Linked DNA regions of Homo sapiens: regions 2, 3 and 4 are each linked to region 1. The links are contacts of gene promoters, found by promoter capture Hi-C in human tissues and cell types (Jung and others, 2019). All regions are on one chromosome and are shown on one strand. The core of a region is centred on a gene start or on the middle of the fragment in contact, and the rest is flanking DNA. Distances in the headings are between cores, read along the strand shown. Region 1 holds the start of NPC2 (NPC intracellular cholesterol transporter 2). Region 2 overlaps LIN52 (lin-52 DREAM MuvB core complex component). Region 3 overlaps PROX2 (prospero homeobox 2). Region 4 overlaps LOC105370569 (a long non-coding RNA gene).

The links. Contacts are between HindIII fragments. The study calls those that stand out against the background at their distance.
Region 2: a contact is called between a fragment that was not itself captured here and the fragment with the promoter of NPC2 in region 1, in 1 of the 25 tissues and cell types used here (aorta).
Region 3: a contact is called between a fragment that was not itself captured here and the fragment with the promoter of NPC2 in region 1, in 2 of the 25 tissues and cell types used here (bladder and hippocampus).
Region 4: a contact is called between a fragment that was not itself captured here and the fragment with the promoter of NPC2 in region 1, in 1 of the 25 tissues and cell types used here (IMR-90 fibroblasts).

What each region holds. Positions count from the first base shown.
Region 1 is chr14:74,490,995-74,494,764 of GRCh38, reverse strand. It overlaps NPC2 (NPC intracellular cholesterol transporter 2), which reads left to right and starts at 1,460. Exons shown (of 5, transcript NM_006432.5): 1 at 1,460-1,572. The coding sequence starts at 1,491. ISCA2 (iron-sulfur cluster assembly 2) reads right to left here and starts at 1,000. Exons shown (of 4, transcript NM_194279.4): 1 at 920-1,000; 2 at 613-715; 3 at 375-490. The coding sequence starts at 990. RefSeq lists an enhancer at 918-997 and silencers at 1,198-1,477, 1,648-1,707. The HindIII fragment of the contact is 6,262 bases long and covers 1-3,770 here.
Region 2 is chr14:74,106,007-74,109,776 of GRCh38, reverse strand. The region is part of intron 5 of LIN52 (lin-52 DREAM MuvB core complex component); the gene reads right to left. All of the region lies in intron 1 of LOC105370563 (a long non-coding RNA gene), which reads left to right. Among named protein-coding and RNA genes, the nearest start is that of LIN52, 23 kb to the right of the region's middle. The HindIII fragment of the contact is 3,681 bases long and covers 267-3,770 here.
Region 3 is chr14:74,859,693-74,863,462 of GRCh38, reverse strand. PROX2 (prospero homeobox 2) reads left to right here. Exons shown (of 6, transcript NM_001243007.2): 3 at 1-933. Among named protein-coding and RNA genes, the nearest start is that of PROX2, 15 kb to the left of the region's middle. The HindIII fragment of the contact is 3,852 bases long and covers 48-3,770 here.
Region 4 is chr14:74,839,224-74,842,993 of GRCh38, reverse strand. It overlaps LOC105370569 (a long non-coding RNA gene), which reads right to left. Exons shown (of 2, transcript XR_944033.3): 1 at 2,849-3,770; 2 at 975-2,393. Among named protein-coding and RNA genes, the nearest start is that of PROX2, 35 kb to the left of the region's middle. RefSeq lists an enhancer at 933-1,092. The HindIII fragment of the contact is 4,426 bases long and covers 1-3,770 here.

The DNA.
Region 1 (3,770 bases), core at 211-2,710:
CCCAGAGGTGCACATCCTCTGTTTTCTAAAGTACAGAGGGAGCTTCCCCATTACCTTTAACAGGTGCTGATTTTCTTTGAGGCAAAATGATTCAATGGAATAAATACTGGGAAACGTGTAGGGACTTAAGCCTGGAATCTAGTCCGGCCTGACTTTCTACCGACTACCCAATGGACCTGGGCAGATCAATTTTGCTCCTATAACTTAGTTACTTTGATTCAGAACAACAAACCTTTACTGCATCCTCACTGTGAGACGGGCGGTGTTAACCATCCCAGGTAAACCCTTTAAATTTGGAATAAAAGTGCACCTTAAACTGGAGACACTTTTGTCCCTCCTGTACCTCCTTTGGGGGCCCACCCCTTCCTCCTTGCCTGTCGTCGGGGTTGATAACTGTATCCAGTGAAAATTTGTATTGGAATCCGGAGCATCCACCTCCCTCCACTTGCAGCCTGAGGAATTCTGACCCTTCGGTGATTTCCAAAAGCCTCTGAAATGCAGGAAGGGGGATCAAGAATAGCGGGAAACGGGAGTTAAAGGGCTGAGTGAAGAGCAGTTCCCGCTGCTCCCGCCAATCGCCTGGGTACCGCCGCTCCGCGTCCGGCCTCCTACCTGGACGCAACTGTCTGTGAGGCGGATCTGCCCTTCGCCGGCCTCGGGGCTGGAGGACGACGCCTCCCGACGCGCCTGGGGTCCCAGGGAGGCCGTGAGGAGCCTGCGCGCAAGGGAGGAGGGTGAGCCCGGGAGCAGAAGGGGCACCTTGCAACCCTCGACCTGGAGCGCCTCACGCTAAACCTGGCGACCCCCACCTGGACGGCCTCCCACCAAACCCTCGCATCCCCCACAGGCCTTAGTTTCCCATTTGTCCTAGAGGCGCAGAACCAAACACCCTTTCCAGGTGCCTTTCTAGTCTTGGTACCTGCCCCTCGGCCAGGGAGTGACCGCTCTCTGCGTCGCGGCCGTTAGGGACGACCCCCAGGCGGCAGCCATCTTCCTCCACAAGCTCCGCCCCTCGCGTCTCCCCCGTTTCTCACCCGGGGCCTCGGGAGGCGGAGAGAACGAACAGGAGGCCGGGACTTCACGGAGGCCCCGCCCCCCCAACATGCCTATTGGGTAGTGCGGGAGGAGAAGGTGTCTGATTGGCTAGGAATGCTCCAGACGGCAGCGGCGGGGACGCACCCAGGAAGCCGGAGAGGTGCTCTAAAGGGAAGGAACGGGGCGGGGAGGAGTGAGGCGGGGCGGGGCGGAGGTGGGTCCGGGCGGGTCAGGCCTCTGAGGGGATGGCATGGGCGGAGACTGCAGGCTTCTGGGCCTGAGAGGGCTGGAGCTGGCTTTCCGGAGCCGGGGGCGGGGCGCGGGCGGGCCTCAGCTGTGGTTACTGGTGACAGGTCGCCTGACTGGGCTCCTCCCCGGGCCCGCCCCGACAGGTTTGTCTTGTGACCGCGGGCGGCCGCTGCTTCTTTCCCGAGCTTGGAACTTCGTTATCCGCGATGCGTTTCCTGGCAGCTACATTCCTGCTCCTGGCGCTCAGCACCGCTGCCCAGGCCGAACCGGTGCAGTTCAAGGACTGCGGTGAGCCCCAGGCCCGCCCAAGGTTCCCGCGCCCTCTGTGGAAGGCCCCGCCGGACCCCCGCGCTGAGACCCCTGGGGCTGGGCTGGGCGGATCCCTCGGGCGGCCAGGCTGAGCCTTGGACCCTACCTAACTGGAATGGGCTGGGTCGGGGGAGAAGGCGCCGGCCTCCATGAAACCCGACCGCGCACAACTTTGTTTCTTTCCTTAGAACGCGTGTTTTGGGGTTCCTGGGAACTCCAGGAGGTGGGCCTTTTGCTGAAGTTTCCTAAAGTTTGTAGGGCGGACAACAGAAGGGCTGTATCCAGCTCTGGTGGAGGGGTGGAGCACAGAACTTCTTTTTATTTATGCTTTGTATCTTGGAATCCCGCCTCCCCCTTCCAACTCCTTTTGCTTTTCTTTTAATTTCGTTTTTGCTGACAAGTCAAAAGTCAATTCCCCTTTTTCATCATTTATTGTTACAAATAGGACTTCCTTTGGGCTTTGGAATCTTGTGATTCTTAATCAGTTTTTCCTTGTATAAATCTCATTGTGTCTCTAATCACAGCTTGTGATACATAACTCCCTCTCGCCGCTGTGGTTGGAATCTTTGTTGGAAAATACAACAGGTGGTAGAAATTCTGAGTGCCTTCATTGAGTCGAGTCTATAGAATTGTCGGAACAGAAACTCGAGCAATGTTGTTCAGAGGTGGAGATAGAGAGATAGAACTGTCAATGAAAGAGGCATGAAACTGACTTTGTAAGATCTATGAGTGGAAAGGAAGCACGGAGATCGTATAATCAATCATTGAATTCCAGGGATGTTGGGTAGCCTACCTAAAGTCACGCAGCAGAATGGGGAGCCAGAGTAAGTGTAACCGCCCAAGGGGTTCACCTTGCGCATTGCCTAGACAGAGCGGATTTATCAAGATGGGATTTGCAGTGGCGAAAAGAGTAATTCACGCAGAGCCGGCTGTGGGGGAGGCCGGAGTTTTATTGTTACTCAGATCAGTCTCCCCGAGCATTCGGGGATCAGAGTTTTTAAGGATAATTTGGCGGGTATGGGCTTGGAAAGTGGGGAGTGCTGATTGGTCAGGTTGAAGATAAAATCATAGGAGAGTCGAAGTGAGTTCTTCTTGCTGACCTCTGGGTGGTGTCATTTGCTGCATCGGAATGCAGGATCTGCAAAATATCTCAAGCACTGACCTTAGGTTTTACAATAGTGATATCATTACCAGGAGCAATTTGGGGAGGTTCAGACTCTTACAGCCAGAGGCGGCGTGGCCCCTAAACTCGTAGCTAATTTGTTAGTCCTACAAAGGCAGACCGGTCCCCAGGCAAGAAGGGGTTTTTCAGGAAAGGGCTATTATCCATTTCGTTTCAGAGTTTAAACTATAAATTCCTCTCCAAGACTAGTTCAGCCTACACCCAGGAATGAACAAAGACAGTTTAGAGGTTAGAAGGAAGATGGGTAGGTGAGTCCTGATCTCTTTCACTGTCTTAATTTCCTCAGGATTTTTGCAAAGGCGGTTTCATAAGTTTGCTGCTTTATATCCAGTGCCCAGGTAATAGTAACTGCTCAATGAAATGTGTTGAAAACATAGATGGAAATCTTTTTCCCCTATGTCATAAAAATTCATGTTGAGACAAAAGCAAAGTTGGGGATTAGGGGACAGGATTGATTAAGGAATGGAGTGCTGGCCGATTAACACTTAAATGCTATTCCATTGATTTAGGAGACTGGCACTTGAAAGCTATTATCGCTTCAAATTACTGCCTTTCCCTCCATTAAACTTAGTAGCCAGCGTTTGGATGAAGACACTATTAATTTTAATAACTCATTCCGGCCAGGCACAGTGGCTCACACCTGTAATCCCAGCACTTTGGGAGGCCAAGACGGGCAGATCACGAGGTCAAGAGATTGAGACCATCCTGGCCAACATGGTGAAACCCCATCTCTACTAAAAATACAAAAATTAGCTGGGCATGGTAGTGTGCACCTGTAGTCCCAGCTACTCGGGAGGCTGAGGCAGGAGAATCGCTTGAACCCGGGAGGTGGAGGTTACAGTGAGCCAAGATCACGCCACTGCACTCCAGCCTGGCGACAGAGCAAGACTCCGTCTCAAAAAAATAAAATAAAATAAAATAACTCATTCCATCCTCACAAGCTGTCTTACAGATGAGGAAAGCGAAGCACATAGAGTAACTTGCCCAAGATCTC
Region 2 (3,770 bases), core at 858-3,357, 390 kb after region 1:
CTATTTCTCAGTAGTAGCAATGAGCAAACTGAAAATGAAATTAAGACAACAATTCCATTTATAATAGCATCAAAAAGAATAAAGTACTTAGGAAAAAATTTAACAAATGAAGTATAATATTTGTGCTTTGAAAATTGCAAAACATTGTTGATGTTGGAAAGCTCACACATCCCAATTTCAAAATTTACTACAAAGCTACAGTAAGCAAGAAAGTGAATTACTGGCATAAGGATAGAGATTACATCAATGGAATAGAATGAGAGTCTAGAAATAAACCTTCACATTTACGGCCAACCAATTTTTTTTGTTTTGAGGCAGGGTCTCTCTCTATAGCCCAGGCTGGAGTGCAGAGGTGTGATCATGGTTCACTGAAGCCTCAACCTCCCAGGCTCAGCCTCCTGAGTAGGTGAGACTATGGGTGCACATCACCATGTATGGCTAATTTTTAATCTTTTTGTAGAGATGGAGTCTCACTTTGTTGCCCAGGCTTGTCTCAAACTCCTGGGCTCAAGCAATTCTCCCACCTTGGCCTCCCAAAGTGCTGGGATTACAGGTGTGAGCCACCATGCCTGGCTGCCAACTGATTTTTTACAAGGATGTCAAGACAATTCAATAGAAAAAGGATAGTCTTTTCAACAAACGATGCTAAGAAAACTGGATATCCACATGCGAAAGAATTAATTTAGATCCCTATCTCACACCAAATATAAAAATTAACTTAAAATGAATCAAAGACCTAAATCTAAAATTATAAAACTCTTAAAAGAAAACACAGGCATAAGTTTTTGAGAACCTGGATTAGGCAATGGTTTATCAGGTAGGACACTAAAACACAAGCAACAACAAAATAGATAAATTGGATTTCATCAAAATTTAAAGCTTTGTGATTCAAAGGACACCATTAAGAAAGTAAAAAGACAACCCATAGAATGAGAGAAAACTTTTGCAAGTCATATATCTGATAATGTCATATATGTGATAATAACATATATATGTTTCTAGAATATATAATGAAGTCTTACAATTCAATAATAAAAACACAAACAATACAATTTACAAATAAGCAAAGGATCTGAATTGATAGTTCTCCAAAGAAGATATATAATAAGCACATGAAAACATGCTAAACACCATTATTACTAGACAAATGCAAATCCAAACCACAATGAGACACTACTTCATACCCTCTATGATGGACATGATAATAATTAAAAAAACAAAAAATACAAATAACAAGTATTGGCAAGGGTGTGAGAAAACTGGAACCCTTATACACTGCTTGTGGGAATGCAAAATGGTTCAGCTAGTTTGGAAAACAGTCTGACAGTTCCTCAATAGATCAGATATAGAGTTACCACATGACCCAGGAATTCCACCTCTAGCTATAAACCTAAGAAAATGAAAACATGTTTACCCAAAAAGTTGTGTGTTTTGGTTGAACCTGAATGTTCACAGCAGCATTATTTGAAGTAGCCAAGTAGTGAAAACAACTCAAACGCCCATCACCAGGTAGATAAATACAATGTGGCGTATCTATACAATGGAATATTATTCAGCCATAAAAAGAAAGAAAGCACTGATACATGCTATAGCATAATTGAACACTGAAAACATTATCTTAACAGAAAGAATCCAGTCACAAGAAACCACATATTATATGATTTCATTTACAAGCAATGTCCAGACGAGGCAAATCCATAGAGACATGAAGCCAGTAAGTAACAGCCTAGGTCTGGGGAGTTTGGGAAGTAATGGGGAGTGACTGCTAATGGGTGCAAGGTTTTTCAGGTGATGAAAATGTTGTAAAATTGGTTGTGGTGGTGACTGCAAAATTCTGAATATACAAAAATCACTGAATTGCACACTATAAATGGGGAATTATAGACTATGTGAATTACATCTCAATAAAGCTGTTACCCAAAAAAAAGAGAAAAAAACCAAATGTATCAGGGTCCCAAGGTTTAGCCGTAGTTTCAAATGATACAATCCTCTGCTTTCCCAGTTTTCACATTTTATTTAAAAATATTTCAAAGATAGCTAGTAAGTAGGTCATTTGCATGACTACTAACTGGTCTGTGGTCTTCAGAGATGGGGAAAAAAATCTATGGGCTATGGGCTGAAAAAGTAAAAATATGATTCTTATCTTAAAAAGTTACAATCAGTCCAAGGACTGAGACATGTACCAAAAATCTCCAAGAAGAATGGTAAAAGCACCTTACAAATCAAACAAACAAACTGCTCTAGGGGCAATTTGAGAGGCCAGAGAGAGCACTCACTTTCTAAATCAAGGATGAAAAGGGAAAGCTGATAGAAGGACAGCTTACCGAGAAAAAGGAATAGCATGAGTAGAACTAAGAAGATGGGGAAGTATTCCAGAAAGAGAGGGTAAAAACTGCTGAGAACTAGTATTCAATAGGATTCATGATAATGAACCTTAGGAATAAAGGAAGCAATGTAGTATTGAAACTTACAGGTCTAAATCAGGATCATAAGCATGTAATAATAGTGATGGAGTAGGGTTCAAGTAGAAGATAAACCAAGCGATCATCAACAAGTTTCACACTGTATTTATTCTGTGCTGTTGACCATCCACTGTCATAAGAGAAGACATTCCAGAAATAAGACCTTCAAATATTACGTCTCATCACTAAAACACCAACTACCCAGAAAAAGAACAATTTCCCGAAGCTTCAGACAGAGACAGTGCATGTGTTTTGGTAGAGGAGATGTAAGAAGGCTAGAGTAATCCGGCGAGGGTCAGAATGCAAAGGATTTTGAATGCCACACTAAGGGGCCTAAATTTTATCCTATGGGTAATGAAGTAGTACCAATGATTTATGAGCAAAAGACAAAGAGAAGAAAATGTACTTCAAAAAATCAGGCCGGGGCCGGGCGTGGTGGCTCACACCTGTAATCCCAGCACTTTGGGAGGCCAGGCGGGCAAATCACTTGAGGACAGAAGTTCGAGACCAGCCTGGCCAACATAGTGAAACCCCATCTCTGCTAAAAATATTTTTAAAACGCTGGGCATGGTGGTGCACACCTGTAATCTCAGCTACTTGGACGGCTGAAGCATAAGAATCACTTGAGCCTGGGAGGTGGAGGTTGCAGTGAGCCAAGACTGCACCACTGCATTCCAGCCTGGGAGACAAAGCAAGGCACTGCCTCAAAAAATAAACAAATAAATAAATAATAAATCAGGCTGGGGTAGGCATGGTGGTTCATGTCTGTAATTTCAGCACTTTGGGAGGCCAAGGAGGGAGGACTGGTTGAGCCCAGGAGTTCAAGACCAGTCTGGGCAACATAGTGAGACCTCGTCTCTACAAAATATCAAAAAAATTAGCCAGATATGGTGGCACTGCACCTGTAGTCCCAGCTACTTGGGAGGCTGAGGTGGGAGGATCTCTTGAGCCCAGGAGTTCGAGGCTGCAGTGAGCCATGATAAGGCCATGGCACTCCAGCCTGGATGAGAGACCTTGTCTCAAAAAAACAAACACAAAAACAATGCGGCAGCAGTAACAAGATAGATTGGAATGGGCTAGTTGAGAGGCAGAGGGACCAGCTAGAAGGTGACTGTAACATAGTTCCAGTAAAAGAGGGAGGACTCTGAGCTCAGATGGAAATAATAGAAATGGAATTCTTCATATGCTAAGGCAGAGTTTTACTTTTTTAAATATTTCTATATATTTCAAGGGAATTTCATATAAATTAACTGCCCAAATCAAGCCAAGAGGCCTCAATCATCTGAGAGACTATAAATCCCTATAAGA
Region 3 (3,770 bases), core at 724-3,223, 370 kb before region 1:
AACAGGAAGGGGGGCCCTCGTGTGAGAGAACAACTTCATCTGCTGAAGCAACAGCTAAGACATCTGCAAGAGCACATCCTACAGGCTGCCAAGCCCAGGGACACAGCTCAGGGGCCAGGAGGCTGTGGCACGGGGAAAGGCCCTCTGAGTGCAAAGCAGGGGAATGGCTGTGGGCCTCGCCCCTGGGTTGTGGACGGTGACCACCAGCAAGGTACCAGCAAGGACCTCTCTGGGGCAGAAAAACACCAAGAGTCTGAGAAGCCCAGTTTCCTTCCTTCTGGAGCACCAGCTTCACTAGAGATTCTGAGGAAAGAGCTGACCAGGGCAGTGTCCCAGGCTGTGGACTCGGTATTACAAAAGGTACTATTGGATCCACCAGGCCACCTGACTCAGCTGGGCAGAAGCTTCCAGGGGCAGGTGGCAGAGGGTAGAAGCGAGCCCTCACCTCCTGTGGGAGGGGCCTGTAAAGATCCACTTGCTTTGGCTGCCTTGCCCAGGAGGGTCCAGCTACAAGCTGGGGTCCCAGTAGGAAATTTATCACTGGCCAAGCGTCTAGATTCTCCTAGGTACCCTATCCCTCCAAGAATGACCCCCAAACCCTGTCAGGATCCCCCAGCAAACTTTCCCTTGACTGCACCTTCCCACATCCAGGAAAATCAGATTCTTAGCCAGCTACTGGGTCATAGATACAACAATGGCCATTGGAGTAGCAGTCCTCCCCAGGACTCATCTTCCCAGAGGCACCCCTCCTCAGAGCCTGCCCTACGACCTTGGAGAACTACTAAGCCGCAACCATTGGTCCTGAGCCAGCAGCAGTGTCCCTTGCCTTTCACCTCTGCCCATCTGGAAAGTCTACCCCTTCTTCCCTCGGTGAAGATGGAACAGAGAGGCCTGCATGCTGTCATGGAGGCACTGCCTTTCTCTTTGGTCCACATATCCTTTAATAGCAATTGAAGTTCTCATTGTTGGCCAGGTGCAGTGTGGCTCATGCTTGTAATCCCAGTGCTTTGGGAGGCCAAGGTGGGAGGATTACTTGAGGACAGGTGTTCAAGACTAGCCTGCACAACATAGCTAGACCCCATCTCTAAAAATAAAAAATTATCTGCACATGATGGCCCATGCCTGTAGTCCTACTCAGGAGGCTGAGGCAGGAGGATTGCTTGAGCCCGGGAGTTCGAGGTTACAGTGAGCTATGATTGCACCACTGCACTCCAGCTGGGCAACAGAGAGAGACAATGTTTCAATAAATAATTTAAAATACCATTGACACTGTGCAGAGAAACAAGAAAACTAAAAGTTGAAGAGGAGCTGGGGACAGATCACTCAGGGTCTTCTTAATGTTGCTCTGGGCCTTCAGCTTATAGTGGTGACCACATTCTGGAATTTAAGGACCTGGGAAGGTTCACTTAGCTTCTTCTATGACCCATCGGGTTCTGCCACTTGACTTATTCCTTTGGGTCTAAAAGGGTTTTGTTTTGAGACTCAAATAGGCTTCTGAAATACAATGAATACCCTAAGGAAGAAAGAATCCATAATTTGGTTGTCAGCCACCCATAAACTTAGGAGGAGAGGGTCAAAGGAATGACGTCATCTAAGGTATGGCCTCCCCAACCCCATAGCTCTACAAGCAAAAATCCTATATTGTGTAGATAATTCCTGGGGAGCAGATGAGGAACAAGAAACTTCTGGGCCAAATGGAAAAGGAGTTTTCCTCGGGGATTAAACCCAGAGAGGTGGCTGGAAACGGCCAGAGGTCTCCAGTTTAAGGAACAACTTCCAAGGTGCAATGGAGTGCCTGGAGACTAGGGGCTGGGCATATGAAGGGAGAGGAGGCTCCCCATGAGGAGGCCTGAGTGGCCCAGGCTGATCTGCAGGGCTCTGGATCTTATTGCATCATCTTTGCAACCCTTAAGTAGACACTACTCTCTTAATGTATTTCCCAGAGTAACCCTCGGGATATTAATAATTGTTGAGTTAGAAGAAAAAGTACCTTGGGGAAATACTGAGATAGTTTCTTTTCTGCAGGAATTCTCAGAGCCTTTAACATGAGTAAATGGAAGCTCTAAGAGGAGAATGTACACAGCCCCAAACCCATATGACCACTTCTAACAAGCATCTTGCAGAACTTAAGTTCTTGAGAATATATTTTGGATGTTGCTTTTTAAGCTAGCTGTGCTCACGCTGCTGCTTCTTGTGTGCAGCTTTGAGGGGAATCTCCAGAAGCTGATGAGTCTATGGAGTTGCATATCCAGGTGGGAACAGTCGTGTCCTTTGCCTGGCAACTACTGTGAGGGCAGCAGGATGGGGTGGGACCAGCTCATTACCATGCCAGAACCTGCCTTTGTGTCCTAAATGCCATGAGCGCCCCCTGCCGGTCAAAAGTGTTGGAAACACCCCAAAGCTTTCCTGGAAGTTAGCGAGCAACTGTAAAACCAATGCTGAGAACACTTCACTTGCCACCACTCTTGGAGGCAGAGATTCCACCATAGACAGATTTTCTTTATAAGAAAGGCTACCTGTCTGGGCCTTTGATAACCACTAGTTGACTCTCCATTAAATTCAGACAGCTGCAAAAACACCTCAGTCTCCCAGAATTTGCTATTTGTTGAGCACCTACATGTGCCTGTTCCTGCCCCCTAAATTGGGGATTGGGCTCAGAGAGCTTCTGGAGGTTTGGGGCCTATCCTAAGAAATACCTAAGCCAGGACTGGCTGCATGGGTGAAGTACTTGACTATCTTTGGAATGACTTGGGACCCCCTAGCAGCACCCTGGCCCCTCAACTCTTCCCTCATTCCTGCTGCCTATATTCCAAGAGATTTATTCCTGTGGGCCATGAAAGCCACCTGAGAGCAAGCTGCTTTACAGCATAAAAAGAACGTTCACATTCACATGACATCCTGTGACATAGGTAGGGCAGATGTGAAGATCACGAGGGGAGCATTGACAGAACACCTTCTCGGTGGCAGGCATTGCTACCAGCACTTCACACATATGTGCCCACCACCACTTAGCTACAATTCTGAAACCCATAAAGCTTTGACAGGCCCTATGATTTTCCCCCCCTAAGAATGATGCAATCTTTTTTTTTTGGTAGCAAAACCTGGCTTGCACTGATTGGAGGCTATTAATAGATTTTATCCCACTTAGTATAGTCATACGTTCTGCTGCAGAAATGTTAATGTATTGGATTATACACTGTCTCAGCTGTGGATGTTAATTAATGTGTGGTACACACATCGTATTATCTTTATAAGCTAACAAATTCTGAAATCCAAACTCCATTTGGCTCAGCATTTCAGATAACGGGTTTAGACCTGTATTATCTCACCGTTCTCAAGCATCCACTCTAAGATCGGGTATCCGAGAAGCAGAGACAGAGAAGGGAGCTAACTCGTCCAAAGTCCCAAGACACACTAATGAGCAACCAGGATTTAAACCCGGGATCTGATGGCCAAGTACAAGCTTTAACCACTATACTCCACATCTTAGCAATGAGGCTCAGAGCAGTTAAGTGGCTTGCCCAAGGTCACACAGCTAATAGATGGCAAAATCAGTGTCTGAAACTGGGTCTTTGGAATCCCAATCCAGGATTCTCTCCACAGCATTTGTGGATCTGTAGGAAGGGTAAGTAGGGGCTGATGGGGCAGCAGGGAGGGATCTCCTGTGCAGCAACTAGGTGCCTGGGCCACCTATAACCATAGTCAGTTGGTCTGGTTTCTTTTGGTTAAACAGATTCATCCTATGTGGAAGTCTTCACTGTCTTAAGCTA
Region 4 (3,770 bases), core at 658-3,157, 350 kb before region 1:
ATCTTTTTTTTGAGATGGAGTCTTGCTCTGTCACCCAGGTTGGAGTGCAGTGGTGTAATCTTGGGTCACTGCCTCCTGGGTTCAAGTGATTCTCCTGGCTCAGCCTCCCGAGTAGCTGAAAATTTTTATATTTTTAGTAGAGATGGGGTTTCACCATGTTGTCCAGGCTGGTCTCAAACTCCTGACCTTGCATGATCCACCTGCCTCGGCCTCTCAAAATGCTGGGATTACAGGCATGAGCCACCGTGCCTGGCTTTTTTTTTTTTTTTTTTTTTTTGAGATGAGGTCTCACACCCTGTTGCCCAGGGTGGACAGCAGTATCAGCTCACTGCAGCCGACATTTTTGTTGCCCAGGCTGGTCTCTAATTCCTGGGCTCAAGTGATCTGCCTGCCTCAGCTTCCCAAAGTGCTAGGATTACAAGTGTGAACCACTGTGCCCAGCCAATAATGCTAATATCTAAAGGATGAGAAAAGCAAGGCAGAAACAATAGAAACCCCAGGGAATAAGTCACACAGTGTGGCTGCAGTGTAGTGCACATGTAGTAAGGACAGCTCAAGAGGAATCTGGAGAAGTAGCTGGGATCATGTTACTGATAGACTTTAACGCCAAGTTGATGAATTTGTCCTTAAAAAGATTAGGAATGGAGCGCTACCGAGTGAAGCAGGTAAGATGCTCATCACTGGGTGAAAGCAAATGGACTAGTTACATAAGAAATTACAAATTAAAGAAAACAAAATTATTAATAGTTCTGTAAGCTATTTGCATAACAATACACAAATGATTTTCTCTACTTTGTGGAGAAAACTCCACTGCTCTTGTACAATCACTGAATCCAATACTCTGTTAATTTTCAAGCTTCTGTTATTCATGAGAATTACCCAACCAAGTAGTAAGTGTTTAAGAGGGATCCTAGGTGTATAGCTACCTTATACATGAGAGTTTAAGGAAGTTGGTTTCAGAAGTAATCACATTGTTCCTGATAGTCATATCAGAATGTATTTCCAGGTCCACAGAGTTTAGTAAATACACACATGTCCACTTGCACACGACACACAAAATAAAGGAGAATTCACCATCCTAGAATTTATGAAGGTCTTCATAAAGGAGGTATTGTAGTTAAGAAAAAAGAAAGTGACAGGTTATGGACCAGGAAACCCAAATTCTAGTCTTGTTTTGCCACTGAGTAACAGTGAGACTTTGAGCAAGTCACTTCCCTTCTTTCGGTCTCAGAAACCTCATCTGTAAAACAAGAAGGATCTCACCAGAACCAACTCTAAGGTCTAACCACTTCTCTAAATATCAAAGGTTTCAAGCCGGCAGTCCACAAGTCAGATGTGGCAGGCAGGCTGTGAGGGCCAAAGCACTCACAAACAAAAAGAACCTGATGCTGAAATACTGGAAGATCTCACATAAAAATCCAGATTTTTCACTTTTTCTTGAAAACCCAGGAAATCTGGCAATATGAGACCTATATCCCCACATGGCCACAATCTGCTATGGCTGAGCAGGTGCTGCCCCCGATTGACCTGACCTATCTAGTTGTCTAGTTTACCAGTCTCCACCCTCTGCCTTGCTCATCTGTTACCTGCCTGAGTCTGTGACCCTTGCCATACACATAGGAAACATTCCCTGTATTTACTCACTCTACAGATATATGAGCCATGCACTGAGCCAGATGCTGTAAAAGAAATAAGCATCAGACATATCTACTTGAGAAATACAAACTCACTGTCAGAAATAACAGATCTGAGAGTGGAATTTCAAGTTATGGCAGAAGATATTATTTCAATTTTTCAAATATGGTTAAGAGATGGATCTGTAGCCTAGATCAGTATTTTCAGGAAAAGGAGTACGAATATTTGGTAAAAAGTTCAAGCTTCTTAAGTAGAAGACACAAAGTCAAGCCTTTCCCTATACAGTAAACCATTAAGTCCACAGGCTCTTTGTAGGATCACAAATGCAAGGCACTGCTGGCAGGCAGAGGGCTGTACATGAATGCAGAAGCTCAGCCCCAGTCATAAAGATGCTCCTTGACTATTTCAAATGTGAAAGCAATGGACCTGAAAACTGAGAATGGATCAGTCACTGAGGTGCACGTGCATATAAATATCCAGGTTCTGAGAACAGTGACCTAAGGTATTAACTCTCAGTCACGTGTGGACCAGGGGATCATCAGAGTCTCTGACCATTCTGGTTCTCTAAGACACATCATGGTTCTTTGCTTTGTCAGTCTCCTATCATGCAGAATTTTCCAGGAAACAAGATGTGCCTTCGTCATCTCATTACTGTCATACTGTCTTGAGAGTTCACCGCTGTGCTGTGCTGGTCCTTAAGTGCTTGTCATCCTTTGAGTATGTCTATGAAATGGTGCCATCGGTATTTTCCTTCATTGCTAGAAATCAGGCAAGTACAGGAAGCTGCAGAATGACTGAGTATATGTGAAATTCATAATTTATAACAGTAAACGAGAGCATGAATACCCATTAATAGAGACTCTGTAAGTTAAAATGATAGTAAAGACATAAAACATTCTGCAGCTGCAAAAGAGAATGAGTTGGAAAGCTACTCAGCAATAAAAAGGAATAAGCTATTGACACACATAACAACTTAAATGAATCTCAAGAAAATTACGCTGAGTGAAAAAAGCCAAAATGCCAATCCCAAAAGGTTACATACTGTATGACTTCATATTTATAACATTCTTTAAATGACAAGATTATAAAAATGGAGACCAGATTAGTGGCTGCCAAGGGTTAGAGATGGTGGGGTTGGGGGACTAGGAGAAAGGTGGAGGGTGGTTACACCAACCTACATATATGAAAGAATTGTATACAAATATACCCATACCATGTATTCCATGCCACGAAAAGAACAGAGATGCAGCTGAAACAATTTCTGAAATTTTTCAGTAAACCTCTTTATATTATGAAGGTACCTTTGGAAAACCAAAGAAGGAGGTGGGGGGGAGAGAAAATGTGAATATTTTATATATGATCTGAATGACCTCTAAAACATACTGGTAAAGGAAAAATAAGGTAGTGTGTGTACAAAAACCAGGTAAAAACATTAATACTTAATGCTTATCCACACAATTTTTCTCAACACTGGTTGCCTCTACAGATGGAGTCGTGGGAGGCTGAGGGTTAAGATGGATGGGACACTTGAACCTCCTGAGTTTTATACCTTTATGAACGCATTATTTATTCACAAAGTTACTTTCTTCTTGAATATGTGAAAATCAAGGCAAATCAATGATTCTGTGCCCTCACCTATGTTTATACCTGTGGTCTGACAACTACTTTCTGTTACTACTCAACCCCCTCTAAGTACTAAATTACCTTTTACACCTGAGCCTCTCAAGCCTCCGTACTAGTTCTGAAAATCAATGTCACTGGTTACCTGAAAATGCTTCTGAATAATTACTCTTTCAACACACTGTACTATTACATATGACATAGCTCAGTCTATGATAGCTGACTATAAAACGTGACAACTATCTTCAAGCCAGCTGGATATTTTGAATTTCAAAAAGAACACATGAGAACAAGTCAAAAAGTAACGATGATGGTGACTACTGATTTTTGAGCTTTTACTATGTGCTCAGTACTGTGCCAAGTAGCTTACATGCATTATCTCAATGTTTAATAGGTGTGTTTTGTTATTTTCATTTTATAGGCAGGAAACTGAAGCTCAGATAGGTTAAAATATTTCAGCCAGGCACGGTGGCTCACGCCTATAATCCCAGCACTTTGGGAGGCTGAGATAGGCG